Linked DNA regions of Homo sapiens: all the other regions are linked to region 3. The links are contacts of gene promoters, found by promoter capture Hi-C in human tissues and cell types (Jung and others, 2019). All regions are on one chromosome and are shown on one strand. Each heading gives the region's core, a stretch centred on a gene start or on the middle of the fragment in contact. The rest is flanking DNA. Distances are from core to core; before and after follow the strand shown. Region 1 overlaps WDR20 (WD repeat domain 20). Region 2 has its middle 26 kb from the start of HSP90AA1. Region 3 holds the start of DYNC1H1 (dynein cytoplasmic 1 heavy chain 1). Region 4 overlaps WDR20 (WD repeat domain 20).

The links. The method cuts DNA at HindIII sites, captures the fragments that hold promoters and counts their contacts. A contact is called where the count stands out against the background at its distance.
Region 1: a contact is called between a fragment that was not itself captured here and the fragment with the promoter of DYNC1H1 in region 3, in 1 of the 25 tissues and cell types used here (hippocampus).
Region 2: a contact is called between a fragment that was not itself captured here and the fragment with the promoter of DYNC1H1 in region 3, in 1 of the 25 tissues and cell types used here (IMR-90 fibroblasts).
Region 4: a contact is called between a fragment that was not itself captured here and the fragment with the promoter of DYNC1H1 in region 3, in 1 of the 25 tissues and cell types used here (dorsolateral prefrontal cortex).

What each region holds. Positions count from the first base shown.
Region 1 is chr14:102,166,966-102,174,853 of GRCh38, reverse strand. The region is part of intron 1 of WDR20 (WD repeat domain 20); the gene reads right to left. Among named protein-coding and RNA genes, the nearest start is that of WDR20, 31 kb to the right of the region's middle. RefSeq lists an enhancer at 2,041-3,026. The HindIII fragment of the contact is 6,952 bases long and covers 1,388-7,888 here.
Region 2 is chr14:102,109,486-102,116,499 of GRCh38, reverse strand. It overlaps a transcript of HSP90AA1 not described here. Among named protein-coding and RNA genes, the nearest start is that of HSP90AA1, 26 kb to the right of the region's middle. The HindIII fragment of the contact is 6,059 bases long and covers 1,576-7,014 here.
Region 3 is chr14:101,963,004-101,970,540 of GRCh38, reverse strand. DYNC1H1 (dynein cytoplasmic 1 heavy chain 1) reads right to left here and starts at 5,968. Exons shown (of 78, transcript NM_001376.5): 1 at 5,594-5,968. The coding sequence starts at 5,849. RefSeq lists silencers at 5,276-5,485, 5,976-6,135 and enhancers at 5,011-5,620, 5,621-6,231, 6,276-6,415. The HindIII fragment of the contact is 2,222 bases long and covers 5,896-7,537 here.
Region 4 is chr14:102,193,167-102,201,139 of GRCh38, reverse strand. WDR20 (WD repeat domain 20) reads right to left here. Exons shown (of 3, transcript NM_144574.4): 2 at 6,020-6,202. Among named protein-coding and RNA genes, the nearest start is that of WDR20, 57 kb to the right of the region's middle. The HindIII fragment of the contact is 6,324 bases long and covers 2,891-7,973 here.

The sequences.
Region 1 (7,888 bases), core at 3,614-6,113, 210 kb before region 3:
AAGAAGATATACAAATTGACAGTAAACATATGAAAAAATGCTAAACATCACTAATTATCAGGGAAATGAAAATCAAAACCACAATATGATACAACCTTACTCCTGTAGCAATGGCCATAATTAAAAAACAAAAAATGCTGGGCATGGTGGCTCACGCCTGTAGTCCCAGCACTTTGGGAGGCTAAGGTGGGTGGATCATGAGGTCAGGAGATCGAGATCATCCTGGCTAATATGGTGAAACCCCGTCTCTACTAAAAATACAAAAAATTAGCCAGGCATGGTGGCGGGCGCCTGTAGTCCCAGCTACTCGGGAGGCTGAGACAGGAGAATCGCTTGAACCCAGGAGGTGGAGGTTGCAGTGAGCCGAGATTGTGCCATTGCACTCTAGCCTGGGTGACAGAGCAAGACTCTGTCTCAAAAAATAATAATAATAAATAAATAAAAATAACAGATGCTGGTGTGGATGTGGTGAAAAGCGAGCACTTTTACATGGCTGGTGGGAATGTAAACTAGTACAACCGCTATGGAAAACAGCATGGAGATTCCTTAAAGAACTAAAAGTAGATCTTCCATTTGATCCAGCAATCCCACCACAGGGTATCTACCCAGAGGAAAAGAAGTCATTACATGAAAAAGACACTTGCACATGCATATTTATAGCAGCAGAATTCACAATTGCAAAAATATGGAACCACCACAAATGCCCATCAATCAGGTGGATAAAGAAAATGTAACAATAATAATAATAATCATGGCATTCCAAGCAACCTGGATGAAGCTGGAGACCATTATTCTTTTTTTTTTTTTTTTGAGATGGAGTCTCACTCTGTTGCCCAGGCTGGAGTGCAATGGCGCGATCTCAGCTCACTGCAAGCTCCGCCTCCCGGGTTCACACCATTCTCCTGCCTCAGCCTCCCGAGTAGCTGAGACTACAGGCGCCCGCCACCACGCCCAGCTAATTTTTTGAATTTTTAGTAGAGATGGGGTTTCAGCATGTTAGCCAGGATGGTCTCGATCTCCTGACCTCATGATCTGCCCGCCTTGGCCTCCCAAAGTGCTGGGATTACAGGCGTGAATCACCTCGCCCGGCTAGTTATTCTAAGTGAAGTAACTCAGGAATGGAAAACCAAACATCATACGTTCTCACTTGTAAGTGGGAGCTAAGCTATGAGGATGCAAAAGCACAAGAATGATATAATGAACTTTGGGGACGCAGGGGGAAGGGTGGGAGGGGGATGAGGGATAAAAGACTACACATTGGGTACAGTGTACACCGCTCAGGTGATGGCTGCACCAAAATCTAGGAAATCACCACTGAAGAATTTATCCATGTAACCAAATACCTCCTGTTCCCCAAAAACCTATTGATAAAAATAATAATAATAATAATAATAATAATAATAATAATAATAATAATAATTTTAAAAAAAGAAAAAAACAGGCCGGGCGCGGTGGCACACACCTGTAATCCCAGCACTTTGGGAGGCCAAGGTGGGTGGATTGTCTGAGCTCAGGAGTTTGAGACCAGCCTGGGCAACATGGTGAGACCTCATCTCTACTAAAAATACAAAAAACTGGCCAGGCATGGTGGCACAAGCCTGTAGTTCCAACTGCTCGTGAGGCTGAGGCAGAAGAATCACTTGAACCCAGGAGGTGAAGGTTGCAGTGAGCTGAGATGGTACCACTGCACTCCAGCCTGCGCGACAGAATAAGGCTGCCTCCAAAAAAATAAAAATAAAAAATAAAAATAAAAAACAGGCCATCCCATCTAGGAAGTGAGGAGCGCCTCTTCCCGGCTGCCATCCCATCTAGGAAGTGAGGAGCGTCTCTGCCCGGCCGCCCATCGTCTGAGATGTGGGGAGTGCCTTTGCCCCGCCGCCCCGTCTGGGATGTGAGGAGCGCCTCTGCCCAGTCGCGACCCCGTCTGGGAGGTGAGGAGCGTCGCTGCCCAGCCGCCCCATCTGAGAAAGGAGGAGACCCTCCGCCTGGCAACCGCCCCGTCTGAGAAGTGAGGAGACCCTCCGCCCGGCAGCCGCCCCGTCTGAGAAGTGAGGAGCCCCTCCGCCCAGCAGCCACCCCGTCTGGGAAGTGAGGAGCGTCTCCGCCCGGCAGCCGCCCCGTCCGGGAGGGAGGTGGGGGTCAGCCCCCGCCAGGCCAGCCGCCCCGTCCGGGAGGGAGGTGGGGGGGTCAGCCCCCTGCCCGGCCAGCCGCCCCGTCCGGGAGGTGAGGGGCGCCTCTGCCAGGCCGCCCCTACTGGGAAGTGAGGAGCCCCTCTGCCCGGCCAGCCGCCCCGTCCGGGAGGGAGGTGGGGGGTCAGCCCCCCGCCCGGCCAGCCGCCCCGTCCGGGAGGTGAGGGGCGCCTCTGCCCGGCCGCCCCTACTGGGAAGTGAGGAGCCCCTCTGCCCGGCCACCACCCCGTCTGGGAGGTGTGCCCAACAGCTCATTGAGAACGGGCCATGATGACAATGGTGGTTTTGTGGAATAGAAAGCGGGGAAAGGTGGGGAAAAGATTGAGAAATCGGATGGTTGCTGTGTCTGTGTGGAAAGAAGCAGACATGGGAGACTTTTCATTTTGTTCTGTACTAAGAAAAATTCTTCTGCCTTGGGATCCTGTTGATCTGTGACCTTACCCCCCAACCCTGTGCTCTCTGAAACATGTGCTGTGTCCACTCAGGGTTAAATGGATTAAGGGTGGTGCAAGATGTGCTTTGTTAAACAGATGCTTGAAGGCAGCATGCTCGTTAAGAGTCATCACCACTCCCTAATCTCAAGTACCCAGGGACACAAACACTGCGGAAGGCCTCAGGGTCCTCTGCCTAGGAAAACCAGAGACCTTTGTTCACTTGTTTATCTGCTGACCTTCCCTCCACATATGACCCTGCCAAATCCCTCTCTGTGAGAAACACCCAAGAATGATCAATAAAAATAAAAATTAAAAAAAAAAAAGGAAAACAAACAAAAAAACAAAAATAAAAAACAGAAAAATCCCTATTTCGTTAGCATTATATAATGTACTAAACATATTCCTTAAATATAATGCATAATTACCTATTATTACTAATCTTATCAATCTTTACCAACTGAAAATTCTATAAAATTTGTTTTAACACAATACTCCCCAATAGGCTGTATTTCCACCGTTATTTTTAAGTCAACGAAAGATAAGATCTTTGGGAAGATACAGGCAACTATGTCTTAAACTGAAAAGTACACAGGGCATAGCTAACTGGTCTTACACCACTCACAGTTTAGCAGAAAACAGCTGACAAATTACTCTCCAGACAAGACATAAAAGATCAAGAAATCCTAAAATTGTTTTTTAAAACATGGGGTGAAATCTCACCTCACAATTTATACCAGAATAAATCTCAGCAGTATCAAAAAGAAATCATATGTAAGAAATGAAACCTCAGAGGTACAAGAAGAGGCCAACAGTGTGGCTCATGCCTGTAGTCCCAGCTACTCACCAGACTGAGGTGGGAGAATCCCTTGAGCCAAAGAGCTTGAGGTCACAATGAGCTATGATTATACTACTGTACTCCAGCTTGGGTAACAGAGCAAGACCCTGTCTCCTAAAAAAAAAAAAAAAAAAAAAAAAGAGAGAGGCCAGGCGCAGTGGCTTGCACCTGTAATTCCAGCACTTTGGGAGGCCAAGGCAGGCAGATCACAAGGTCAGGAGTTTGAGACCAGCCTGACCAACATGGTGAAACACCGTCACTACTAAAAATACAAAAATTAGCCAGGCATGGTGGCGCATGCCTGTAATCCCAGCTACTCAGGAGCCTGAGACAGAATTGCTGGGAGACAGAGGTTGCAGTGAGCTGAGATCGCGCCACTGCACTCTAGCCTGGGTGACAGAGCTAGACTCCATGTCAAAAAATAATAATAATTATTAAAACAAAAATGAAATTTCCCAAGGAGGAGGAAGAAGAAAAATAAAGGGAAAAAAAGCAAATTTCTATGTAGGAAAAAACTACCATGAGCAAAATCAGAAGACAACTGACAAATGGAACAAAATGTCTGTCCCTCAGATCACAGATTAAGGGCTAATTTATATAAAAAGCTGGGCATGGTGGTGCATGCCTATAGTCTCAGCTGCTCAGAGGCTGAGGTGGAACGATCGCAGACCAGCCTGGGCAACACAGTGAGATCCCATCTCTAAAAAAATTTAAAAATTAAAAATAAATAATCATAAAAGAGATCTCCTACCAACTTAATTTTTTTTTTTTTAAAGACCAGAATCCTAGTAGAAAAGCGGGTTCAGGACATGAACAACTCATAGAAAATACAGATGGCTCTTAAATATACAAAACAATGCTTAATTCATAGCACAAGAAACACCAGAAAACTCTAGTGTTATACCATCTTTCATCTGTCAAATTAGCAAAGATCAAAATAACAATACACTATGCCACAAGTAAAAATTGGTACAATTTTTAGAAGGCGATTTGACTATGTCTCTAAAATTACAAATGCACATATCCTTTTCACCCAGCAATTCCTCACAGGAATTTATTCCTCAGATATACTAGCAACAAGGCAAAATGATGTATGTACAAAGTGATTTATTGCAGTATAGCGTGTAAAGACTAGAAACATCAATGTCCATCAAAAGAAGAATTATGATAAATGTACACAATGGGATATTGTACAGGCATTAAAGATGCTTTTACACAATAATGTCTTTATTGACAAAGAACAATCTCCGAAGTATACAAATCAAAACAAGGTGTAAAACAGTGCAGATGCTAAAGTTTGCATTTTTATAAAGGAGGAAAACTATATCTGTAATTTTGTGTATTAAAACATTGGCTATCTCTGGAAATACATACAAGAACTTAATACTGGTTACTTCAGAGGAGGGGGACAGGGTGGCACTGGAGGGCAAAGTGTGAGAGACTTCATTGCATGCTCTTTGAATTTTGAACCATGTGAACGTATTACCTATTAAAAAATAAAATAGGCCTATGAGACGTCACAATACCTAATTCCCAATGCAGACTTTCTCACTAAGTTACTTGAGAAAGGCCGGGCGCGGTGGCTCACTCCTGTAATCCCAGCACTTTGGGAGGCCGAGTCGGGTGGATCACCTGAGGTCAAGAGTTCGAGACCAGCCTGGCCAACATGGTGAAACCCTGTCTCTACTAAAAATACAAAAATAAGCCGGGTGTAGTGGCAGGCGCCTGTAATCCCAGCTACTCGGGAGGCTGAGGCAGGAGGACCACTTGAACCCGGGAGGCAGAGCTTGCAGTGAGCATTACGCCATTGCACTCCAGCCTGGGAGACAAGAGTGAGACTTCACCTCAAAAAAAAAAGTTACTTGAGAATATCCACTATCCATTCATCCAATATTTATTGAATTCTATATGCTTCAGGCACCATTTTAGATCCTGGTATCTCACCAACAAAGACAGATAAAGCCCTCCTCTTGTAGATTTTAGGTGGGACTAGTCAGTAAGCAGGCAACAAAATGAACATCAGCAAGGAACATGAAGAACAATCAGTCAGGAAAGGGGAGTGGAACGACTGAGGTGGAAAGGTGATGGCAGTGCCTTTCTGGGCAGGGCTAAGAGAAAGCTTCTTTCACAGAACCACATTTGGGCAGAGACCTGAAGAAGTGAGGGAGCCAGCGCCATGGCCACTGGGGAGGGGATTCTAAGCAGAGGGGCTAAGGATTCTAAGCAGAGCGTGTACCATTGGCTCCACGGGTGGGACGGGGAGGGGTGCAGCTGCTCTTCATGGAATGCAATGGATGGAATAAATGAGGAGGAGGTGGCAGCAAATCACACTGGGGAATCGGGGAGGGGAAAAGCACTGTATCAAAAGCAATTCAGATCTTATTCTAAGCGCTATAGAAACACATTAGAAAGTTTTAAGCAGCGAAGAATATGATCTGACCTATACTGTTTAAACGATCACTCTGGCTGACATCAGGAGAACAGACTGTAAGAGGCAAGGATAGAGGTGGGCAGCCAGTTGGAGACCTCTGTAATAATCCAAGTGAGAGACGCTGCTTCCTTAAACTAGGGTGGTAGTGGTAGAAGCAGAAGTGTTCAGATTCTGGATATATTTAGAGGCAGAGTCAACAGGCTCTACTGAAAGGACTGGAAGTAGATCGTGAAAAAAAGAACTCACAGGTGACTCCAAAAATATTTAACCCAAACAACTTTTTACAATGATCTAATGGGCTCATTTTTTAAAAGTCACACCTTCATATAAAGTTCAACTACTCTAAAACAGGTTATGAACACCATCAAAAAAAAGCAATGCTCATCTACATACCAAACTGGGAAGCTGCAGCCATTTTAAAATTGAAAAAACACATACTTGGGTTCATTCTCTAACTACTGAGCACCTACACCGTGCCAGGCATAATACTCGGTACTAGGGACCTAAATTATGCTTAAAATATATAACTGAACACCAAAAAAAAAAGACTGACAGGTAAAAATACCAAATTACTAACAGCTGTGGGATATGGAGTTTTTTTCTTCCTTGAGTTTTCCAATTTTCTACAATAAACTACTCTATTTTTATCTTTGGGGGGAAAAATTTTTCCTTTTTACTGCTGCCAATTAAGAAAAAATTCCCACACAGCAAATTGATTTAGTGATTTGAATGATTAACAGGCTTGCCTTCTAAAAAAGCTCCTAAACTAGGCAGATTTCTCAGGTCTTTCTTTCATGCCTGTACCTGTTTGTTACCAGTGCTATGGTAAGATATGGGAGATGTATGGGAAGTGGGGGGAAGAGAGAAATACAGTAGAGAGAAATGAGGGGTACAAATAACCACCTGCTGTTCTTTAAATATATCATGTCACCAAACACAGATGAGAAAGATCAGGCGAACAACTGTTCATTGAAAATATTTAACCAAATACCTACTGCATACAATATGCTTACCATAGCAGTCTGCCCACTGTCAATAAGTAAATGACAAAGTCCCTTGTATATTTATCCATTCATTCAAATATTTATGAAGTACCTATAATGCATCAAAGGCACTGAGCTAGCATGCAGAATAGACAGGAGTTCAGCAATCAATCAGATAAAATCAGCCCTCAATAGTCTGCAATCTAGTTTGGTGGGTAGGGAGTAAAGAGACATTACATTTCAATTTCTTATTTAATTACTACCGTGGCATGCATTAGAGAGGCGACTTGGTAGACGGTAACAGGGAGACCGGATCTAGTCTGAAGGTCAGGGTAAAACGCTTGGACAAAATTACATATGAGCTAAGATTTCAAGGAGTAGGAGTTAAACAGATGAAGGGGCAGAGAGTGAGGAATAGAAGCACATTCCAGGCAAAGGAAACAGTATATTAAGAAGAATCTAGGCTGGGCACGGTGGCTCACAACTATTATCCCAGTGCTCTGGAGGCCAAGGCAGGAGGACAGCTTGAGGCCAGGAATTAGAGACCAGCCTGGGCAACATGGCGAGAGCTTGTCTCTAAAAAAATAAGAAAGAAAAAAATTAGCCGAGTGTGGCGGCACATGTCCACAGTCCTAGCTACTTGGAAGGCTAAGGCAGGAGGATAGCTTAAGCCCAAGGAGTTTGAGGTTACCGGTGGGCTATGACTGCAGCACTGCACTCCAGCCTGGAAGACAAAGCAAGACCCTGTGTCAAATAAATAAATAAATAAGAAGAAGAATCTATGTCAAAAAAGGTTAAGGTTTGTGAGAGGAATTAAAAGGAAGCCAGCAAGTCAGAAAGATATAATGAAGGGAAGAGTGACTGATAAGGTAGGCAAGGGGTAGTTTCATGCAGGGCTTGTACGCTGTGTTAGGAATTTAGTCTTTCATGCTAAAAGCAACAGGAACCACTGAAAGATTTTCAAGCCTGGGAGTGACAATCCGATTCACATTTTTAAAGATCACTGACTGCTCTCC
Region 2 (7,014 bases), core at 3,356-5,855, 150 kb before region 3:
GGACCCACTGCCACCATTCCTGCTCCCGCAGCTGCCCCTGCCGCCACTGCTTGCACCTCCCCGCTGTGGCTGGTGCAGTGGCCACTGCCATGATAAGCAAGATCAACAAACAACAAACTGGAAAAAGAATAAAGGACTCCTAGAAATCAATAAAAGAAAGGCTAAAAATCTAATGGACAAAGGATCTGAGCAAACAGGAACAAAACAGAAACACAACTCTCTCCACCATTAAAAGATGCTCGGTCTTGGCCGGGCACAGTGGCTCATGCCTCTAATCCCAGCACTTTGGGAGGCCAAGGTTGGTGGATCACGAGGTCAGGAGATCGAGACCATCCTGGCTAACACGTTGAAACCCTGTCTCTACTAAAAATACAAAAAAAATTAGTTGGGCGTGGTGGCGGGCACCTGTAGTCTCAACTACTTAGGAGGCTGAGGCAGGAGAATGGTGTGAACCCGGGAGGCAGAGCTTGCAGTGAGACGAGATGGCACCACTGCACTCTAGCCTGGGCGACAGAGCAAGACTCCATCTCAAAAAAAAAAAAAAGATGCTCGGTCTTAAACTTAAGAAAAATACAAATTAAAATAACAGTTAAGCTGGGCTCAGTGGCAGGTGCCTATATCCCACCCACTCAGGAGGCTGAGGCAGGAGCTTCAGTTGAGCCCAGAAGTTCTAGGCTAGCCTAGACAACATAGGGAGACCCCATCTCTAAAAAATTTTTTTTAGAATCAGATAAATTTTTCTTTTTTTTCTTTTTAAGACAGGGTCTTGCTCTGTCACCCAGGCTGGAGTGGAGGGTCACAATCATGGCTCACTGCAGCCTTGACCTCCTGGGCTCAACTGATCCCACCTCAGCCTGCCACAGTACTGGGATTACAGGCGTGAACCACTGTACCTGGCTAAATATTTTCACAGTCAAAAAGTTTGATAACTGTTTACAAGGTATTAGGAAACAAATATGCATATTATTGCTGTTGGTGTAAAACTGTTACAAGCGCAACAGAGAACAATTTGGCAATAACTAATCAAAATCTAAAATGTACGTACTCTTCAATCCAGCAATCTCACTTCTTGGAGTTTATCTTACATAAATCCTTGCAAATCTAGATTCCTAGATTCCTTCTCCCATCCTAGCAGAAGTCTAAGGTTTATTTTTTGTAAAAGTAAAACACAGAGTTGTTTTGTTTGTTTGTTTGTTTGTTTGTTTTATGAGATGGAATCTTGCTCTGTCACCCAGACTGGAATACAGTGGTATGATTTTGGCTCACTCTACCTCCCGGGTTCAAGGGATCCTCTTGTCTCAGCCTCCCTAGTAGCTGGGGCTACAGGCATGCACCACCACACCCAGCTAATTTTTTTTTTTTTCTTGCTCTGTGGCCCAGGCTGGAGTGCAGTGGCGCCATCTCGGCTCACTGCAAGCTCTGCCCTCTGGGTTCACGCCATTCTCCTGCCTCAGCTTCCCGAGTAGCAGGTGGGACTACAGGCGCCCGCCACTACACCCAGCTAATTTTGTTGTTGTTGTTGTATTTTTAGTAGAGACGGGGTTTCACCGTGTTAGCCAGGATGGTCTAAATCCCCTGACCTCATGATCCACCCACTTCAGCCTCCCAAAGTGCTGGGATTACAGGCGTGAGCCACCATGCCTGGCCAATTTTTTTAGTTCTAGTAGAGATGAGGTTCCAACATGTTGGCCAGGCTGGTCCCAAACTCCTGACCTCAGGCGATCTGCCCGCCTCAGCCTCCCAAAGTGCCGGGATTACAGTCAGCAACCGGGTCCGGCCTAAAACAAAGAATTTCTATACAGGGAATACTAGGCCAAATTAAGGCAAGAGTAGTCTCTTGAAAATGGGGATTACGTGAGTGTGTGATTACTGAATGCTGGAATAATCCCCTGCCTTTTCTCTCCACTGGGCTTTCAAAACACTGGCACCCAAATCTTTACTCTCCATGCAGAAATTTTAGAAGACTCTTTTCTGGAGAATCTGACAATCCCCAGGATATAGGTTTAAGAGGTTTCCCAACAAATTGCCCATGTAGAATACCCTGCAGTGAATCTCAAAGTCTAAAAATCCTGTAAACCATGTGCTCAGATCTTCCAAATGGCTTTTTAGTCCTCTACTCTTAGTCATAAGCAGACATCCAAGGATTATCATACATCTGAGAAAAGCCTCTAAACGTGACTTAGAGATCAAAATAAATGACATGGCCAGGTGCAGTGGCTCACACCTGTAATCCCAGCAATCTCAGCACTTTGGGAGGCCGAGGTGGGCGGATCACTTGAGGTCAGGAGTTCAAGACCAGCCTATGCAACATGGTGAACCCCATCTCTACTAAAAATATAAAAATTAGCCCAGTGTGCTAGCGCACGCCTGTAGTCCCAGCTACTCGGATGACTGAGGCATGAGACTCTTGAGCCTGGGAGACATGAGATCATGACTCTGCATGACAGAGTGAGACTCTGTAACAAAAAATAAATAAATAAAATAAATGGGGGCGGGGTGCAGTGGCTCACGCCTGTAATCCCTGCACTTTGGGAGGCCAAGGTGGGCAGATCACGAGGTCAGGAGATCGAGACCATCCTGGCTAACATGGTGAAACCTCGTCTCAACTAAAAATAGAAAAAATTAGCGGGGCATGGTGGCAGGCGCTTGTAGTCCCAGCTATTCCAGAGGCTGAGGCAGGAGAATGGCGTGAACCTGGGAGCCAGAGCTTGCAGTGAGTCAAGATCATGCCACTGTACTCCAGCCTGGGCGACAGAGCGAGACTCCGTCTCAAAATAAACAAATAAATAAATAAAAATAAAAAAATAAAATAAATGAGTATGCCTGGTGCGGTGGCTCACGCTTGTATCCCAGCACTCTGGGAGGCCAAAGCAGGCAGATCACTTGAGGTCAGGAGTTCCAGCCTAGCCAACATGGTGAAATCCCGTCTCCACTAAAAATACAAAAATTAGCCAGGCATGGTGGGGCATACCACACCTGTAATCCCAGCTACTCGGGAGGCTGAGGCAGGAGAATTGCTTGAACCTGGGAGGCGGAGGTTACAGCAAGCCAAGATCACAACATTGCACTCTATACTTCACTCCAGCCTGGGTGACGTAGTGAGACTCTGTCTCAAAAATAAATAAATTAATTAAAGAAAGAAAGAGAGAGAGAGAGAGAAAGCAAGCAAGCAAGCAAGCCGGGCGCGGTGGCTCACACCTGTAATCCCAGTACTTTGGGAGGCCAAGGCGGGCAGATTGCCTGAGGTCAGGAGTTCGAGACCAGCCTGGCCAACATGGTGAAACCGTGTCTCTACTAAAAATACAAGAATTAGCCAGGTGTGGTGGCAGGCACCTGTAGTCCCAGCTACTTGGGAGATTGAGGCAGGAGAATCGCTTGAACCCGGGAGGCAGAGGTCGCAGTGAACCAAGATCGCACTACTGCACTCCAGCCTGGGCAACAGAGTGAGACTCCATCTCAAAAAAATAAATAAATAAATACAAACAAAACAAATGACACAAATGAACAGAAAAAATAATATTGAAGAAAACAGGCTGTACAGGGAGATGCGAATTTACAACAAGTGCTAATATTAGTAGTTTAAATAGATATTGCATCTATGAAATAAGAACGGTCTGCATTCTTGTAAAAAACTTAGGAAAATAAAAAACCTCTTGAATATTAAAAACTTAACAGCAGAAATTAAAATGCTAGAAGGGTTGGAAGAGAAAGTTGAAATCAACTGGGCACAGTGGCTCACGCCTGTAATCCCAGCACTTTGAGAGGTAAAGCCAGGAGGATGCCTTGAGGCCAAGAGCTCAAGACCAGCTTGGGCAACATAGTGAGACCTCCATCTCTACAAAAAAATTTAAAACTTAGCTGCACATGGTGGTGTGTGCCTCCAGTCCCAGCTACTCAGGAAGCTGAGGTGGGAGGATCTCTTGAGCCCAGGAGTTCAAGATTACAGTGAACTATGATCACACCACTGCACTCCAGGCTAGGCAACAGAGCAAGACCCTGTCTCTTTTAAAACAAAAAAAAAGGGAGAGCCAGGCACGGTGGCTCACGCCCGTAACCCCAGCACTTTGGGAGGCTGAGACAGGCAGATCATAAGGTCAAGAGATCAAGACCATCCTGGTCAACATGGTGAAACCCCATCTCTACTAAAAATACAACAAAAATTAGCTGGGTGTGGTGGCGGGCACCTGTAATCCCAGCTGCTCAGGAGGCTGAGGCAGGAGAATTGCTTGAACCCAGGAGGCACAGGCTGCAGTGAGCCAAGATCGTGCCAGTGCACCCCAGTCTGGGAACAGAGTGAGACTCCGTCTCAAAAAGAGAGAGAGAGCATATAATAGAAGACCACCTAGAGAATCTAAGAGGTCCAAACTCCAAACACTGTAGGAGGAAATTATCCACAAAATCTTCAAGTAAAATTTCCAGAACTGAAGAACATGAGTTTACAGAGGGGATGAGCCCACCAAGTGTCCAGCAGAATGGATAAAAATAGATCTATACCAAGGTACATCACTTTGAAATTTTAGAACACTTGGAATAGAAAAGATCCTACAAGCTTCCAGAGAGAAGAAATGTCATATAAAAGGGATCAGTAATCAGAATAGCTTGACTTGTAAACACCACCACTGAAAACCATAACACAAGTAGGAAAAAAAGCTCTTTTATGCTATCTTGATGTATCTTTGCCTCTGTTGTTCATTGATGGATCCCAAGTGCCTAGAGGCAGTGCCAGGCATGTACTAGAGTCTCAGTAAAAATTTATTGAATGTAAGAGAACAATTGAGAAATGGCTTCAAAATTCTGAGGAAGTATTTATTCCAGCTTATAACTAAACCAATATATCACTCAAGTATGAGTTTAGAATAAAGATATTGTGGGACATGCAGGGTTTCAATTTACCCTCTTTGTGCCCCTTCTCAAGAAGCTGTGAAAGGATATGCTTTGTTTTGGGCCAGTTTCTCCCATTTGGAAGGGGTGTATTTACCCAATGCCTGTACCCCCATTGTATCTAGGGAACATGAAAAGGGAAATCTAGGCAGAGGTTCCCAAACCTCAATTCTTGACTTCCATGCACCTGCAGGCTCAGTACCATGTGGAAACTGCCAAGGCTTGGGGCTTGCACCCTGTGAAGCAATGAGCTGTTCCTTGGCCCCTTTTAGCCATGGCTGGAGTGGCTGGGACTCAGGGCACCAAGTCTCTAGGCTGCACAGAGCAAGGGGGCCCTGGGCCCGGCCCATAAAACCATTTTTTCCTTCTAGGCCTCCAAGCCTGTGATGGGAGGGGCTGCCGTGAAGACTTCTGATATGCCCAGGAGACATTTTTCCCATTGTCTTGGGAAATTAACATTCAGCTCCTCGTTACTTAAGCAAATTTCTGCAGCCAGCTTGAATTTCTCCTCAGAAAATGGGATTTTCTTTTCTAGTGCATTTCCAGGCTGCAAATTTTCCAAACTTTTATGCTCTGCTTCCCTTATAAAACAGAATACTTTGGCTGGGTGCAGTGGCTCATGCCTGTAATCCCAGCACTTTGGGAGGCAGAGGCAGGTGGATCACCTGAGGTAAGGAGTTTGAGACCAGCCTGGCCAACGTGGCAAAACCCCATTTCTACTGAAAATACAAAAAATTGGGCTGGGCGCAGTGGCTCACGCCTGTAATCCTAGCACTTTGGGAGGCAGAAGCGGGTGAATCACGAGGTCAGGAGATCGAGACCATCCTGGCTAACACGGTGAAACCCCATCTCTACTAAAAAATAGAAAAAAATTAGCCGGGCGTGGTGGGGGGCACCTGTAGTCCGAGCTGCTCGGGAGGCTGAGGCAGGAGAATGGCGTGAACCCGGGAGGCGGAGCTTGCAGTGAGCCAAGATCGTGCCACTGCACCCCAGCCTGGGCCACAGAGCAAGACTGTCTCAAAAAAAAAAAAATTATCCGGGCATGGTGGTGGGCGCCTGTAATCCCAGCTGCTTGGGAGGCTGAGGCAGGAGAATTGCTTGAACCCGGGAGGCAGAGGTTGCAGTGAGTCGAGATTACACCATTGCACTCCAGCCTGGGCAACAGAGTGAAACTCTCTCAAAAACAAACAAACAAACAAACAAACAAACAAACAAAACTGAATGCCTTTAACAGCACCCAAGCCACCTCTTGAATGCTTTGTGGCTTAGAAATTTCTTCCACCAGGTACCCTAAATCATCTCTCTCAAGTTCAAATTTCCACAAATCTTTAGGGCAGGGCAGGAGCAGAATGCCACCAGTCTCTTTGCTAAAACGTAACATGAGTCAGCCGGGTGCGGTGGCTCACACCTGTAATCCCAGCACTTTGGGAGGCCAAGGCAGGTGGATCACAAGGTCAGGAGTTCGAGACCAGCCTGGCCAATATGGTGAAACCCTGTCTCTACTAAAAATACAAAAAATTAGCCAGGCGTGGTGGCAGGCACCTGTAGTCCCAGCTACTCAGGAGGCTGAGGCAGAAGAATCGCTTGAACCCAGGAGGCGGAATTTGCAATGAACTGATATTGCACCACTGCACTCCAGCCTGAATGATAGAGCAGGACTCCATCTCAAAAAAAAATAAAATAACGAGTCACCTTTGCTCCAGTTCCCAACAAGTTCCTCATCTCCATCTGAGACCATTTCGGCCTGGATTTCATTGTCCATATCATCATCGGCATTTTGGTCAAAGCCATCCAACAAGTCTCTAGGAAGTTCCAAACTTTCCTACATTTTCCTGTCTTCTTCTGAGCCCTCCAAACTGTTCTAACCTTTCATCATTACCCAGTTCCAAAGTTGCTTCCAGAGTTTTGGGTTATCTTTTCAGCAGTGCCCCACTCTGCTGGTAACAATTTACTGTATTAGTCCATTTTCATGCTGCTGGTAAGGACATACCCAAGACTGGGAAGAAAAATAGGTTTAATGGTCTTACAGTTCCACATGGCTGGGGAAGCCTCACAATCATGGCAGAAGGCAAGGAGTAGCAAGTCATGTCTTACATGTATGGCAGCAGGCAAAGAGAGAGCTTGTGCAGGGAA
Region 3 (7,537 bases), core at 4,719-7,218:
ACTGCACTCCAGCCTGGGTGACAGAGCAAGACGCCATCTCAAAAAAAAAAAAAAAAAAAAAAAAAAACAACAACAAACCAAACATACTAATACCACATTATTATTATTCTGGTGGTCAATCACTATTATACACGGCCTCCCTTTTTTTCCCGCTTTAGTTTTCCCCTTTCTTGTCTCTGGCGCTTTCTCTTGTCACCTGCATGTCCACCCTTTCATCCTCCTGAGGGGCCATGACTTCTTTCCCACAACCACTCCCTGCTCTGGTACAAGGCTCAGAACACGGTGAGAAAGTCGGAGTATTCTCCTCCACCTGAAGATTTCCATTGTAACATCATTAGGAATATGAAGAGAGCATGAAACCCCATATAATACTTATATTTAACGTAAACTGGAGCTCATTTTGGTATTTCCCGAAAAGAAAAGAGAAAGAATTTTTAAAAATCTACTAAGTTATTAACACTAAAGGAACTTAAGACTTGGTACTTTTCAAGTTACTACTAACTCAAAATAAATAACAGATACCAAGGCACTGCAGAGATGAGTTTTTAGGTTTCAGAACCCTCCTTAGAACATCCTTTTCCCAACTGGGTCTTAAAATCCTAGGGTTTTGGTTTCCTCATTCATGAAAGATGAGGGCTGGGCTAAATCTCTCTTGCTGCTCCCAATCTGACATGCTCCGATGCTGACACGCAATTTTCATCCATGTTTAGTTTTTAAAAAGAAGTGATAACTGTTTTCCCTTTGCTGTACATAAATTTCGTTTACTATGCTACACTGCACATTCAAATTTATCTTGCTGCAGATGGTGTGTCCCACAGTGTGACAGCATGGGGCAGTTAACAGCCTCGCTGAAGTGCGGATACCACTGAGTGCAGAGCCTGGTAGCTAGGTTTGTTTTCTCCTTTTGAACTGGAGGCCCCTGGTACAAACACGCGCTGCCAGATCTTCCGTCAGGCCAAGAAGCATCTGAGTCTGATCTCCCTCTTTGTGTCTGCTGGAGCTGGAGGTACTGGAGCAACACTGTACGGCCTGCATCTGGCACAGTTCAATCCAGATTTTACTAGGGACAGAAAGAATAACTGGGTGCCCTAGAAGAAACTAGGTCACAGGGATCAATACAAATTCTACTCAGTGAATGTGGATTACAGTAAACTGAAGAAAGAAGGTCCAGATTTCTAAATAAAATGTTTCACTATAAAGCTGCTTTAGAAAGAAGGTCTTGGCCAGGCACGGTGGCTCACGCCTGTAATCGCAGCACTTTGGGAGGCCAAGGCGGGTGGATCACGAGGTCAGGAGATCGAGATCATCCTGGCTAACACGGTGAAACCCCGTCTCTACTAAAAAAAAAAAAAAAAATTAACCAGGTGTGGTGGCAGGCGCCTGTAGTCCCAGCTACTTGGGAGGCTCAGGCAGGAGAATGGCGTGAACCCGGGAGGCGGAGCTTTCAGTGAGCTGAGATCGTGCCACTGCACTCCAGCCTGGGAGACAGGGCGAGACTCTGTCTCAAAAAAAAAGAAAAAAAGAAAGAAAGAAGGTCTTGCAGAAGCCAATAGTACAATTTTCCACTTAACCAGAAAACATTTCTCCTCTAAATGCACGAAATCATGGTGATATGTTGTGTTGGAGATTAATTACATTGATTAAACTACATTTCTTCATCCTTTAGAATTAAATCCTCAGGCTGGATGTCATGGCGCACGCCTGTAATCCTGGCACTTTGGGAGGCTGAGGTAGCAGGATCACTTGTGTCCAAGAGTTCAAGACCAGCCTGGGCAACATGGGGAGACCCTGCCTCTACAAAAAATACAACAATGAGCCAGGCGTGGTGGTGTGTGCCTGTAATCCCAGCTACTCAGGAGGCTGAGATGGGTGGATCGCTTGAGACCGGAGGTTGAGGATGCGGTGAGCAGAGATTGTGCCACTGCACTCCAACCTGGACAACAGTGAGACCCTGTCTCAAAAAAAAAATTCCAAGTCTCAAACACTGGAGTGTTAAACAAACAAACACGTGGGGTGTGGTAGCTCACACCTGTAATCCCAGCACTTTGGCAGGCGGAGGTGGAAGTATTGCTTGAGCCCTGAAGTCCCAGACCAGCCTGGGCAACATGGTGAGACCTCCTCTCTATTAAAAAAATGAGAAAATGAACTGGGAGCCCAGGAGGCCGAGGTGGCAATGAGCCATGACTGGGCCACTGCACTCCTGCCTGGGTGACACAGTTGAGACCCTGTCTCAAACAAAACAAAACAAAACAAAACCCTTTCCCCACCAAAAACAAACAAAAAACCCAAACTACACGCTCTCATCCAGACCAACCAACCTAGCAGCCAATCCCAGGCAGGTCATGAACAAGCTGCAGAGCAGACAAGTCATGGAAATGTCAGTTCCATCAGCTGCAAACTGAAGCATACCCCACCGAACGGAGATACACAACCAAAAAATGGTCCTTGAAGTAAAAAATGCTACAAAAACGTCATTAACATAAAATGGCTAGTTAAGTAATGAGCACCTATTTTGTCACCATGCTGTAAGCATACTATGAGGAAGACAATTTCCTACAGGCCAGGAACTATACAAAGGTTTCTCTTTTTAAAATGAGGAGCTATAACTTAATCCCTTTTTCCCACAAACTCTCCAATTCCTCAGTATCAAGATGAGTTGTTAAATTCACAACATTTATTCTATACTTTGAGTAATGCTGTACTTGATTTATTTTAGAGATAGGGTCTCACTCTGTACCCAGGCTGGAGCAAAGTGGTGTGATCCTAGTTCACCACAGCGTCAAACTCCTGGGCTCAAGCAATTTTCTCAAGTAGCTGGAACTACTGGCATACACCACCATGCCTGGCTTATTTTTTAATTTTCTGTAGAGATAGGGTCTTGCTATGTTGCCCAGGCTGGTCTTGAACTCCTGGCCTCAAGTGATCCTCCTGCCTTGGTCTCCCAAAGTGCTGGGATTACAGGTGTGAGCCACCGCACCCAGCTCAATGCTGCACTTTAACAACAAAAGTTTATGGCTAGCTGGGGTAGCTAAAACAAACAAACAAATAAAAAATATATATAGTTTCACATAAAAATGTTTCTATATTCAATTACAAGTGTTTGGATACTTCCACAAAAAAAGTGGAAGGAATAAAATAAATAAAAGTAATTTCTACTGTTCATTAAATTACATGACTTCATTGTTGGTGATCTTTATTCAGTTTAAATAATTCAGCTCTGTTGTCTACATTAATGCATGCCTATCTTTTCACTGTAATTAACTACTGGATGCACATATTTGATTAAATGTACAAATGCCAAAGCTAACTCATAAAAGCCACCAAGAAGAAAGCCCTCCTACCAAAAGTCCTGGGTCTCTACTTATATCTAAGGTGTCCTAGTGTAGCCAGGCTGCTAATAAGACAAACAGACCATCTATCATAAAACTGGATTAATTTAAAAATCTTTCCTTAGGTTTTTGTAAGTGAAAAATAAATTATAGACAGGTTGAATTGGTAGAAATACTTCAAGGATTGTTATAAATACAGAAATGAGGTAGGATTTCAATTTTAGATAGTCTCATTCCTTAGTCAACTTTCAAAAGTGCAAGTCATTATGGAGCCAAGATTTGGATACCTGCATATTTGTTTTGCTGAAAGAAAAAAAGGTACTCATAAGACAACAGAGAGAATTTGTAGTAGATATTGTACTACATAAACATAGTCCCCCCACCCCAATAATTTTAGCAACGTCCAATTTTAAGATGCCTGGAAAAAGCGAATTACTGGTGATCACTCTAGAAGCAAAGTATAAAACTTAAATTTTTTTTCATAAAAAGAGTGACACAAGGTAAAAAAAATAAAATCACTGATTCTAATACATAAACTATGCAATAAAAATATCAAGGATTAGCAATGGTCAAGCTACTCAAAATACAATTAACTTTAAAAATGCAGATTAAAATGTATTTTAATAAAATGACGAATATGCATTGAAAAATGACCACAAAGACATAAACCAAAAATGCTGACAGTGATTATATCTGGGTCAAACAATTCCCAGTGATTTTTACTTTAGCTGTATAGTACATTTTCTACAATGACTATATGTTTTTTGGAAAAAAAAAAGAGTAGATAAATTTTTTTTTTTTAACTTTTGTGGCTTCCACTTAGGAATACATAATCCCAAACATCACAGTAAACAACCCTCAAAAACATTAATACTCTAAATATGCTCAAATGGTTTATTTGCCTTGAACATTCCACGTGGATATAAGAAAAAAATATTCTTTTACACCCTGCTAATCTCTGGCAGGAAACCAAGGCTACAGGGAAGCATCTTCTGAGTAAGAATAGCCTTTGAAAGAAACAAACCATCAGAAACACAGTGTGTGTTAAGGATGGGGCAGACAGTACAGGGTCTCTCACTGAGAGAACCATACAGTTTTTTGAAATTTTAAGAAGCTTGTTGGCAAATATTTTTAGACAATCTCCAATCCCTAGAGGCTAACCTTGGACATCATCCTTAGGTTCTTAGATGGACACGCCACACCCAAAGTGGTTGTAATGGGCTACAAAGTGGTTGTAATGAATCCATGAGAAAGCCTGCCTGCAGGCAAGCCCCAGACTTAGATGAATGTAACCTTGCTGGTGGGCGATCATTATTTGAGGAGACAGCTGGAACACGCTAACTCTAGCCTCTTCCCCCTACTAGGTGCCTAACCTGAATCTTTTTTTTTTTTTTTAATCTGTAAAATTAGACTCAAATATTACAGGGTTATCATTAACATCATCGAAGCATTAAACAAATATGAGGTATGATCAGTGAAAACAAGCAGTGGATGGGGAGCTGAGACACTGAGTCTAGTCTCAGGACTAAGATTAGCTGGTGACCTTGGGTGAAATCACTTAACCTGAGCCTCAGTTTCCTCAGGTGTAAAATCAGGATACACCCGTTCAGCAAGGATGCTGTGAGAGCATCCACCTACAACAGTGATGCTCGCAGGCCCGGGGCTGGCACCGTCGCTCTGTGGGCCTCGGCCTCTGGGTCCCCACAAGGCAGGGCTGGGACACCCGCCCGACCTCCTCCCGAACCAGAACCCCGGCTGCCCCCAGCTCCGCGGGTCTGCCCCCGACACATCCCTCCCGAAGGCCACTTGGCTTGGACACAAATCGAAACCGAAAAGCTCATGTGACACTGGAGGCAGGGATGCGGCCTCGCCCGCTCTCAGCCCAGGGAGACGCTGTCTCCACCCAACTCGGCCATCTTGAGAGGCCCGAGCAGACAAAGCGACCCCATTGTTTTGGGTGACGGCAGACGGGGACCCCTTTCCCCTCCCCGCGACCAGGAGCGGGGCGCCCTGGGGGCTCCGGGCCGGGCAGTGGGTGTGGCGAGGGCGAGCCCCGGGCGCCGCGCCGGCCTCTGCGGGGCGTCTGCGGCCCTGGGGACCCGGCCGGCGGGACGTCTGCGGCCGCCGGGCTCTGCCCATCCAGGGGTCATCTGCAGCTGCCGGGCTCCTCCCATCCCGGGGACATCTGCGACCCCGGAGGACCTGGCAGGCCCTGCATTCCGCGAGGCCTGGCTCTGGCGACCCTGCCCTCCGCGGCCCCGCACCTTTGAGCGTGGAGCGCTCCACCAGCACCGTGTGGACCTGCGGGTCCGAAAGGAACTTGCGCATCTGCTCCAGGGCGCTCTTCTCCTCCAGCGCCGCCTCCAGCGCGGCCGGCGCCTCGCCGCCGTCCTCCAGCAGCAGCGGCACCAGCTTGCGCAGGTGCTTCTGCAGCACCGACACGTCCGCCACATTCTGCACGGCCGACACTTCCAATCCGGCCGAGCCGTCCTCGCCGCCGCCGCCCCCGGGCTCCGACATGGTGTCGCGCTCGGGACCTTCCAGGAGCGATGAGAAGGCGGCCGCGACTCAGCGAGACAGCCAGCAAGAGACAGAAACGGCCGCCGGAAGCCGGACCGTCCGCTAGCCCACCGCAGACTGAGGAGAGCGGGAGCCGGCTCCGCCCTAAAGGCAGCCACTGCCAGGTGGCCCCGCCCCGCCCCGCCGGCCGCAGCCGCCGCAGCCACCCGCGCTCGCTCGCGGCCTTAGCGTCACGGCGCCGCGCGTGCGCGGGGGGCGGGCCCGGCGATGTCGCCGCGCGCCCTTCTGGGACTTGTAGTCTCGGCGCTGGTCGGGGCCCGCAGCCTCCGCACTGCGAGTCCTAGGAGATGGGGACTTGGCTCAACGTCCTGGCTCGGCGCCCGGGCTTGGCGAGGTTGGTCAGGGGCTGCGTCTGTCTTCTTCACTGCTGTGGACGCAGCGAATAGCACACAGCCAGAGAAACTTTATAGTGAATCAGTGATGTTATTGGCGAGAGCTAACGTTTAGTGAGCGCTTAGCCTGTGCCCGGCGTTGTTCTAAGCCCCTTAACCTCTCATTAAATGTTCTCTCATTGAATGAATGAATGACTACGTATCAGGTACCAAAATATAGGCACGACAGATGTGTTATTAGATATAGACCGGGAGATTGAGGATACTTTTCAGAGGGGGAGGAGATGAGGGGCGTGCTCAGAGAGTCCCATTGCCAGGCTGGAAACGGACAGCTGGGGAGGGGGCCTTCGGGGCAGTGTAAGGTTAAGCCAGGAATGACACCTTCACTGTACGTAAAGCCAAGCTGTGATGGGATCTGGTTCCTAATGACAAAAATCATTGTCCCCGAGGACGCTGTGAGGACCAAGAGGGAGACCTACTGAGAACAGCTACCTCCAGCAATGGCTCTCCTCCAGCCCCCTAGAGCTGGCACTGTCATTCTGTGGGCCTCAGTATCTGGGTCCGTACAAGGCAGGGGCTGGGTTGCCTGCCCACCAAGTTTCCCCCTAGTTCGGACCCACCACGACCTCCTCCCCTACACCATGACTACATAAGAGCCAGAATCCAGGCTGCCCAGCTGGGTGCGGTGGCTCACACCTGTAATCCTAGCATTTTGAGAGGCTGAGATGGGAGGATTGCTTGAGGCCAGAAGTTCCAAGACCAGCCTGGTCAACCTAGCGAGACCCTATATCTATGTGTATTTAAAAATTAAGAATTTTGTAAAATAATAAAAATAATAGAATCCAGGCTGCCCATCTTTGTAGTTTAGAGATGGTAGGTTCTTCTAAGGGGTAGTAATTGGCCTTTGAAAGTTCACATTCATAACTTCTTTCTTAAGTTGGGTGGAGAGAGGGAAGCCAATGGCGTTTTTTTTTTTTTTGGTTTTTTTGTTTTTTTTAAACATCAAAGTGCACTGTCAGAGTGCCGAGTCCTGATTGGTGGAATGATGATGGTATGATTTGATTCTCCCAAATCATCTTTGAAAAACTGTGAAACATACAATAAGCTTATTCCTTGCCTAATTACCGGTTGCTGGGTCCCAGGGGGTTGCTGGAACACGGAGACTAATCAGATGATTCTTGTCTTTAAGGAGCATGTGGAAGAGGGGACAGATGAATACCCCATCTTCCTGCTCTCCATCAGTCCGCCCTGGTGTGATGTGCCTAAGCAGTTCCGAGTAATCTTCCTGGAAAAAAT
Region 4 (7,973 bases), core at 4,803-7,302, 230 kb before region 3:
GCCACATTAAGATGGGATCGGATGTCGTTTTATCTGTGTTCAAGCTTTAAGGAGTAGATCATTACGGGCTCATTTCCTTCCTTCGATTAGAAAATCAACAGAAACAAAACTAACAAAATGTGCAGACCATTCCTTTGTATCAGAATAGACAGAACACTGCTAAGCTTTACCCCATGCCTGGGAGGCACCTGCAGCTGGCAGGATGTGCCACGCAGCCTGGGCTGGCAGCAGTGTCCCTCCATACCCCAGGAGTCAGGGCCATCTCCTCTTCAGCATGCCCTTCAGTAAGACTGGATCTAAATGCCACAAGGAGACGTGGGACCTACCCAGTGTGTCTGCCTCAGCCTCACAGCCTGCGAGAGGAGAAGGGCAACAGCAGAGGGTATCGTGTCAGTAACGAAAGAAGCCAAATGCCAAGTTCTTTAACATTTTATATTTCAGCCAACAATTAACACATACTTGAAAATCCTTCAAAGTTACTATTCTGTGAATATACTCCAAAATCAGGATTTTTACACAGACAACAAGGTTGCATTCATTACCATATAGGAACTGTCCCTTTGTAACTCTTCCTCCCCAAATATATAACCATTAGTTATAAAAAGCAAACTTCAGAACAGGGCAGAGTGAAACACACACACACACACACACACACACACACACACACACACAAAAAAAAAAATTTAAAAAGTAAACTCCTCGCCCCTGTGGGGTGCTTCACCACAGTGAGCTGAATGTGACCGGGTGACTCTCCTCTGTGGGCAGCTCTGATGATGAGGACACGCTCCACGATCTGGGAGCTTGTCAGATGAACCGTGCGCCAAGATACTTTCAATAATGGCCCATTAGACATTTTCAAGGGCATCATATGTACAGAACGCTACAAACAGAAACCCAAAATCTACTCTGGAAGATTGGGGAAAGCAGAGACTCCAGGGAGCTGGGGATGATTTCCTGAGAGGGGCTAGAAAGGACTGGGCATTCGACTTTCTTTGGGTCTTGAACAGATGCACCAGCAAGGACCTCCAGTGTGACTGAGGACAGTCCCAGGGAGCGGGAAGAGGGCAGGGCCTGCCCATGCTCACTGGGCTGACCTGATCAGGGCCAGACTTGGAGATGAAGTTTGGTGAAGTTTGCCTTCACCCCCAATGGAAGGTGTGAGCCCTATGGTGTCCCCTCATTGAAAACAATCACAGACTGTGAAAGTCAACAGTGAGCGTCACGGTTTAGAGGTGATGCTTTCCTACCTTCTTTGTACCTCTCTATTTTCCAATTTTTCTATCAACAAGCATTTTAAATGCACACAATTTTTAATTGACAGGGGGAAAATCATCTTTTAAAATATACTTGTTCCCAGATGGGAATTTTTCATCTATGTTTATCTCAGGTGGATTTCTGAAATTTATAATTCCATTTCACTCATCTTTCCATCCCAACATTTATTACATTTTCATGTACCAGGCACCAGAAAGGAGGCAAAGGCCAGAGTAACTGATGCTGGGGATTCGGTGTGTGAAGGTGTGTGCACGTGTGGTAACAGGTGGGTCTGAGAGGTGTTCTGGTGAGGAACACTGAAAGGCCACATTGCTGTAATTGTGACCAGCGGGCCAACCCTCAGCCTCACACATGTTGACTCTCTGCCTGGGTTGCCATGCTCCTACCTGCTTGTCCTAAAAAATTAATTATTTGTATTTCAAAACGGTTGGTATCTCACCTCCCACGGAACCCTTTCCGTCCAACACCACCCCTCCCAGGAAAGGAAGCCTGAGTTTCTCTCAACCTCCACGTTGCTGAGCATCCACCAAGGCTCGCTCTTCAGGCCCTTCACAAACACCCTGCCTGAACTCACTCATCTGAGCCTCATCACAAACCTCTCAGGTGGGTGCTGTTCCCACCCATTTTCCAACCGAGGAGAGGTAAGACCCACATCATCCTGCAAGCAGAAAGTGGCAGAGCTGGTGTCCGAGCCCTCAGCATTCTGGGCTGTGAAGTTGTAAATGTCGTGGTAATTAACTGTGTGTTAAGTGCCCCTTTGAAAGCAGTAGCTGAGATGGCCAGAATCTTGGAGTATAATCAGGCCTCAGACCCAGGCCTTCTTTGTTCTCACCATCATCTCTCCAAAGAACCTTTCATCTAATCTCAAGGATGTGATTATTATTTCTATGCTGACAACTGCCAAATTGTAACCCCTAGTTTTGTGCTCCAGATCCATACATCCCACTATCTACAGGTCTCTCGAACTTAGCAAGTACAGACCAGAACCTCTGATCTTCCCCTCCATTCCCTGACAACTGCTCCTTTCCCAGTCTCACCCAACACAGCAAGAGACACCCAGAAACCTGATTTATTAATACACCTTTCCAATTCAGTCTCCAAAAAGCAGCCAGGGTACCTTTCAAAAACACCAATCTGCCTGCCTTGTGCACCTGCTCCCTTCTAAGGAATCCCGTACTTCAGGCTAAGAAACAAATCTGGATCAGGCCGTAGGTGATGTGGCCCTCCAATCTCATGCCCTTACTTCATGCCACCTTCCCCAGGTAAACCGTCCTTCTTTCAGTTTCCTTGGGCTCAAGGGCCCTCATGTGCTATTCCTTTTGCAGGAAAGCTCCATCTCCAGTTCCTTACCTGGTTGGCCTTCTTCTCACATGAGGCACAGCTTAAAACATAGCACTTCGTCCGAGAGATGTCCTCTGCCTCCCAGTTTAAAGTAGACCTCTGTGTTGGCCAGGCGTGGTGGCTCACGCCTGTAATTCCAGCACTTTGGGAAGCTGAGGTGGGTGGATCACTTGAAGCCAGGAGTTCCAGACTAGCCTGGCCAACATGGTGAAATCCCGTCTCTACTAAAAATACAAAAATTAGTCAGGTGGCCTATAATCCCAGGTACTTGGGTGGGTGAGGCACAAGAATAGCTTGAACCTGGGAGGTGAAGGTTGCAGTGAGCCAAGATTGCGCCACTGCACTCCAGCCTGGGTGACAGAGTAAGACTCTGTCTCATAAATAAATAAATAAATAAATAAATAAATAAATAAATAAATAAATAAAGTAGACCTCTGTGATTCTCTCCCTTTCTTGGGCCTGCTCTCTTGCCTCTTACATCACAAAGTGTCACCATCTGTGGTCACCAGTGTTTCGGGGGTGGTGCTATTATACCTCTCTTCCCTCCTGAGAGGGGTCACAGGAGGGCAGGTTTTGCCCACTGCTGCAGACCCAGTGCTGGGCATGTGGTAGGTAGTCAAGGTCCTGAATGAATGAAACAATGGCCGCAACTCTAGTTCAAGCCCTCAGCTCTCACCTGGACAGTTACTAGAGCCTCCTCACTGGTCTTGCTACCTTCATTCTGTCTTTCTTCATTCCAATCCACCTTCCACAAGTGCTGACAAGAGTTCTAAAAAAACACATTTGATCCTGTCACTCCCTTCATTAAAAGGCCAAAGGTTCCCCCACATCTTCCAGTGTCAGTTCCAAATTGCTTCACGTGACATGAAAAGGCTTTTATAAGACAAGCTGGTTCCAATTTATCTTTCCAGCTTCGAACTCTGACACTCCAAGTCCCACACTGTGATGTGGCCAAGCTGTTACTGGATGTTCTTTCACATGCCTAGTTGTTCCTCCAGCTTTGAAGGCCTTCCTTACCCTCCTCTAATGACTATGTACCCTTTAAGACCCACATCAAACATCACTTTCTAAAAGCATTTCTTGGAACTCCCCCAGTGAACTTAACATTTTAAAAAACTTTAAAATGCATACTAAAGAATTCCTGCGGCAGCTAGCCCTTGGTATTTTGTTCATATCGCTGTGCTGACACGTGCCCAGTACTCTCTGTCCATTCTTACTAAACTGTGAGCTCCCGGAAGGGCAAGAGCTCATCTGGCAACCATGCATGGTGGGTCCTGTAACCAATGAGTTTCTGGAATTAATTTCTGGTTCCAACTCTATCATCAACTTGCTACCTGATCTGGACAATTCACTTATGTGCTCTTTGACTATTTCCTCATCTGTAAAATGGGAACAACTCCCCACCCTCCCTGTAGAGGCCATAGGTAAAAGTGCCTTGAAACCTGTAAATGTCACACCACAGCAAAGCACGACACGATGACTACTTCACCACCATTCCTGGCACTCTCTAAGGAACAAACCTCCGGTGACCCTTGCTCTTAGACATTCTGACCAAAATCTGATAAAAATGTATCCACATGGCCAGAGGATCTCCTTACTATGAAGGGCAATCGATTTCAGCCTCAAGCTGTAAATGCAAAGCTGGCATTAAACCACACACAGTCTTAGCATTCTAAATAGCAATTTCTCAAATAAAATGTAAAGTGAGTATGAGATAACTCATGCTTAAATCATGAAGAATGAGGAGCTGCCTTCCAGCCTGCAACTCCCAGTCACCAGGGCAGGGATAGTTCTGGCCAATGCAGCCTGAGTGCTCCCAGAGCCCTGAGATTCTGGGGACGTGTGGTCTCCAACTCCCTGCCCTCCCCCTGCCACGACACACAAAACTTTCTTGTTCTCTAAGCGGCATTCTGTACCATCCTCGGCCAGGGCTGCCTCCGGGTCTTGTTTACTAACAGCCCTTACATGGCTCCAATCCCTGCCCCCTCCAATCACACTCTCCCCTACCTAAACAATAAAAACCCACAATGATTCCAAATTCACAATTTCTGCTAACAGTGCAGAGGAGGCCAATTTTGTGCGCTGCTCCCCAAACTCAGCACCAAAAAAATAATCATCCAGCTACTTAGAAATCACTTCTGCAGATGATACTAAAAAAACATCTAGGTAAATAAAATATTTTCTGCTTAACTTTTTTTTAATGGAAAATGGGATTAAATACTTTTCCTCTACAATCTGTCAGTCCAGATGGCAAGTTTTGTTTCCAGTCAACTCAGAGGAAACTAGAAGAGATGGCATGGTTCATAAGATCTTATCAAATCCACTGGCAATGTCAAACAGGAGCACCCTGGGTGGATACTGATTTGCATGAATAGCAAGTACCATAACTGCAAAAGAATCCAAATTTTAACTGCCATTTGTCAATTTGAATTTTCTTCCCCAAACAAAATTATTTCTTAAAAACCATACTCTATAATGTGTTTTTGTTCCAAGTTAATGATGTTAAAACCATGCAACAATGCAAAAGGGAGGGGGTCCCACATAGCCTGACCCTTGCGCCTCAGGGGCAAGGTCCCAAGTAGAGATTGGAACCCAGGGCTTCTAACTCAGCAAGCCTACCTTATCTTTTCCACTTGGTAGAAAAGTCATACTGAAACAGACGAGGAAGAATATTAAATATGAAATAGCAATACTTGAGGCTGAAAGATGCTCCAACAGCTTTAAAAAATATAATCTACTTGGCAATTTCTATATGCCACATTTAACAGTCCTGACATGTTCCTGAACAGACAGCTCAGATATCTCAGGCTCTTTCCAGAATGAAATTGAAGATACTAGAAACCCCAGTACATACTACAACACTGGCAAAAGCTATGTCATGTGACCAAACTTTAAGCGCCAGGATTTCCAACTATGTCAAAGATGAGTTTACAGTAACTATTTTCAAGAGCAAGTGAAGTACTCCTTAGCCAAATGACTGTCAAACATACATACAAAAGCTTTGGCTACAATTTAAGCAGCCTAAGGAAATGTCATCAAGTTCTTTGATCTGCATGAAATGTTCTGGTGATGTGAACCAACTTTGGAATTCCACATTTTCTTACTTAAATTATAAATACCGAGTTACAGTACTGTCCCTATCTCCATTATAGAAGAGTTTTAAAACACCTGTTATAGACACCTGAGCATGCTCCATAAAAATGCACAAAACAGTCACCCCAAGGAAGAACAGGTAAGGTCAACAAATTAATCCACCACATTTAAACTTGGGCATACTAGGTAGGAGGGCTGGGCGAATAAAAAATGGGCTTAGCTTGAAGTGCAAAATAAGGCCGACTACCCTCGGTAAGAATGTATCAACTCTTAAAGGGATTCTTAACAGCTAAGACAGGGTGCTACTTACTTCCTCATTAAAAAGTTTGCTAGTTTCTTTTTTGATTGGGTCTATAAGCTGGACTTGGCCTGCGGAAAAGCCCACTAGGAGAGAGACACTTTCTGCTGTGGCTGTTAGGTGGTTGAAGTCATGACAAGTAGGCTGTGTTCCTTTGTATATCCTTTTATCTATTGGTTTACTCAAGTCAGCAGCCTGGAGGAGAAAGAGAAAAATACATACAGTAAACAGCACATTGAGATGAGAAATCTAAGTTATGCTACTTTATACTCCATTATGATGTTTCATCTTAAAAACAAAGTGATTTAAAATGTTTTTTCAGTTGTGACTTAACATCATCTAACATTTTATAAAAGCACTTTCACATACCTTAGCCAATTAGATATTATTAGACTATCTATAATATGTTTACAACTGTTACTTTCACAACTTATTCTCCTTCAAATATATGTAACAAAGACTCCTGGACTTCAGCAGGAAATATCCTTGAGATATTAAATTCAGTATTTTCAAAATGCATTTCAAGCAGTGTCTAACAGAGTAACCACATAAAAAGCTCGGCTTTCAAATGTATCTACAGCACCTACATGCCCACTGGCCAGTTACCTGCAGCCCAGTGGTTCTCAAAGTGTAATCCCCAAACCAGAAGCAGCAGCAGCAGCATGTGGGAACTTAGAAATGCAAAAATCTCAAACCTCACCCCAGACTAAATGAATCAGAAACTATGGGAGTAGGGCCAGCAAGTCGTAAAGAGGCTTCCAGGTGATTCTGATGCCCGCTCAAGTCTAAGAACCACTGCTGGAGCCCACTCTATACAGGTGGCTCCCTTCCTGGGTCAAAATCCCTCTTCTGGATTAGGTTTCGGGGAACATTACTTATCGAGGCCATAATCAAAGGACTTTACATGCATTGTCCTTAATCCTAACAATAATGCTCCAAAGTGGACAATATTTTACCCATTTTACAGATGAGAAAACAAGTTTAGGGAAGTTAAATAACTTGACCAACGTCACCATACCTACCTAAGTAAGTGGCAGGGCTGGATTTGGAACCCAGGTCTGTTTGACCATTAAGGGGATGGGGAGAGAGAGTCAAAAGCAAATGATTTCTCACTTGGGTGAAAAGTGATTTTTCAATGTGCCCTCCCCACTTTCAAGAAGGATTCTTTTCTTCATGAGAAATGTCCTGTGGCATCCCAATATGCTGGGCTTTTATTGGTGAAATAAGGGAAACCCACCCCCTCCCACTCTTGTCTGAAAATCTCCAGTGGAGACAACTAACCCTGAAGCAGAACTTGTCCCTCAAGACACCCAGTTCACGCTGTGTGGCCCTCTGGGGCTCCCGGCTCTAGTTCTCTACTGACCGCCCCCTCAGGTTCTGAAGATTTCTTTCTTCCAAAGAGGCCTGTGACATCGAACCAAGTATTCTAATGTTGGACTTTCCAATAACAAATATAAGTAATGAGTAGAAAAGAGGACCTCAAAATTACAGGCGTCTTTGAGCAAACTCAAAACCTTGCACATGTAGAAGTCTGGACCTGAGCGGTAACAAGTAGTTCTGGGAGCCCCAGGGCAAAGGAATGAGGGTGCATGCCATGCGGACACTCTCCCAGCCTCACCTCAGTTAAAACGGAGATGAGAATCTCTGTTCTACCAACCTCATGGGATTGTCTGGAGGATGAAATAAGAGAATATATACATGAAAGAGCCTTGAAAAGTGTAATACAAAGCATGATACAAAACAAAAGGGAGTCCTGACTGGAGCGAGGAGAAAAGCGGCCAGTGGAGGGGAGCGGCCGCTGTACAGCAAGGCAGGCTGAAGGCAGCTCAGCCGAGTGCTGCGAGTGAGCAGCGGGGCCTGGGACGATGGCCACGGACAGGCTGTCTGAGGAAGGCAGCTTCTGAGCGGCTCGGATGGCAGGGAAAGAGAATCCTGGCCTGAGAGAACACCACATGCCATTCATCTC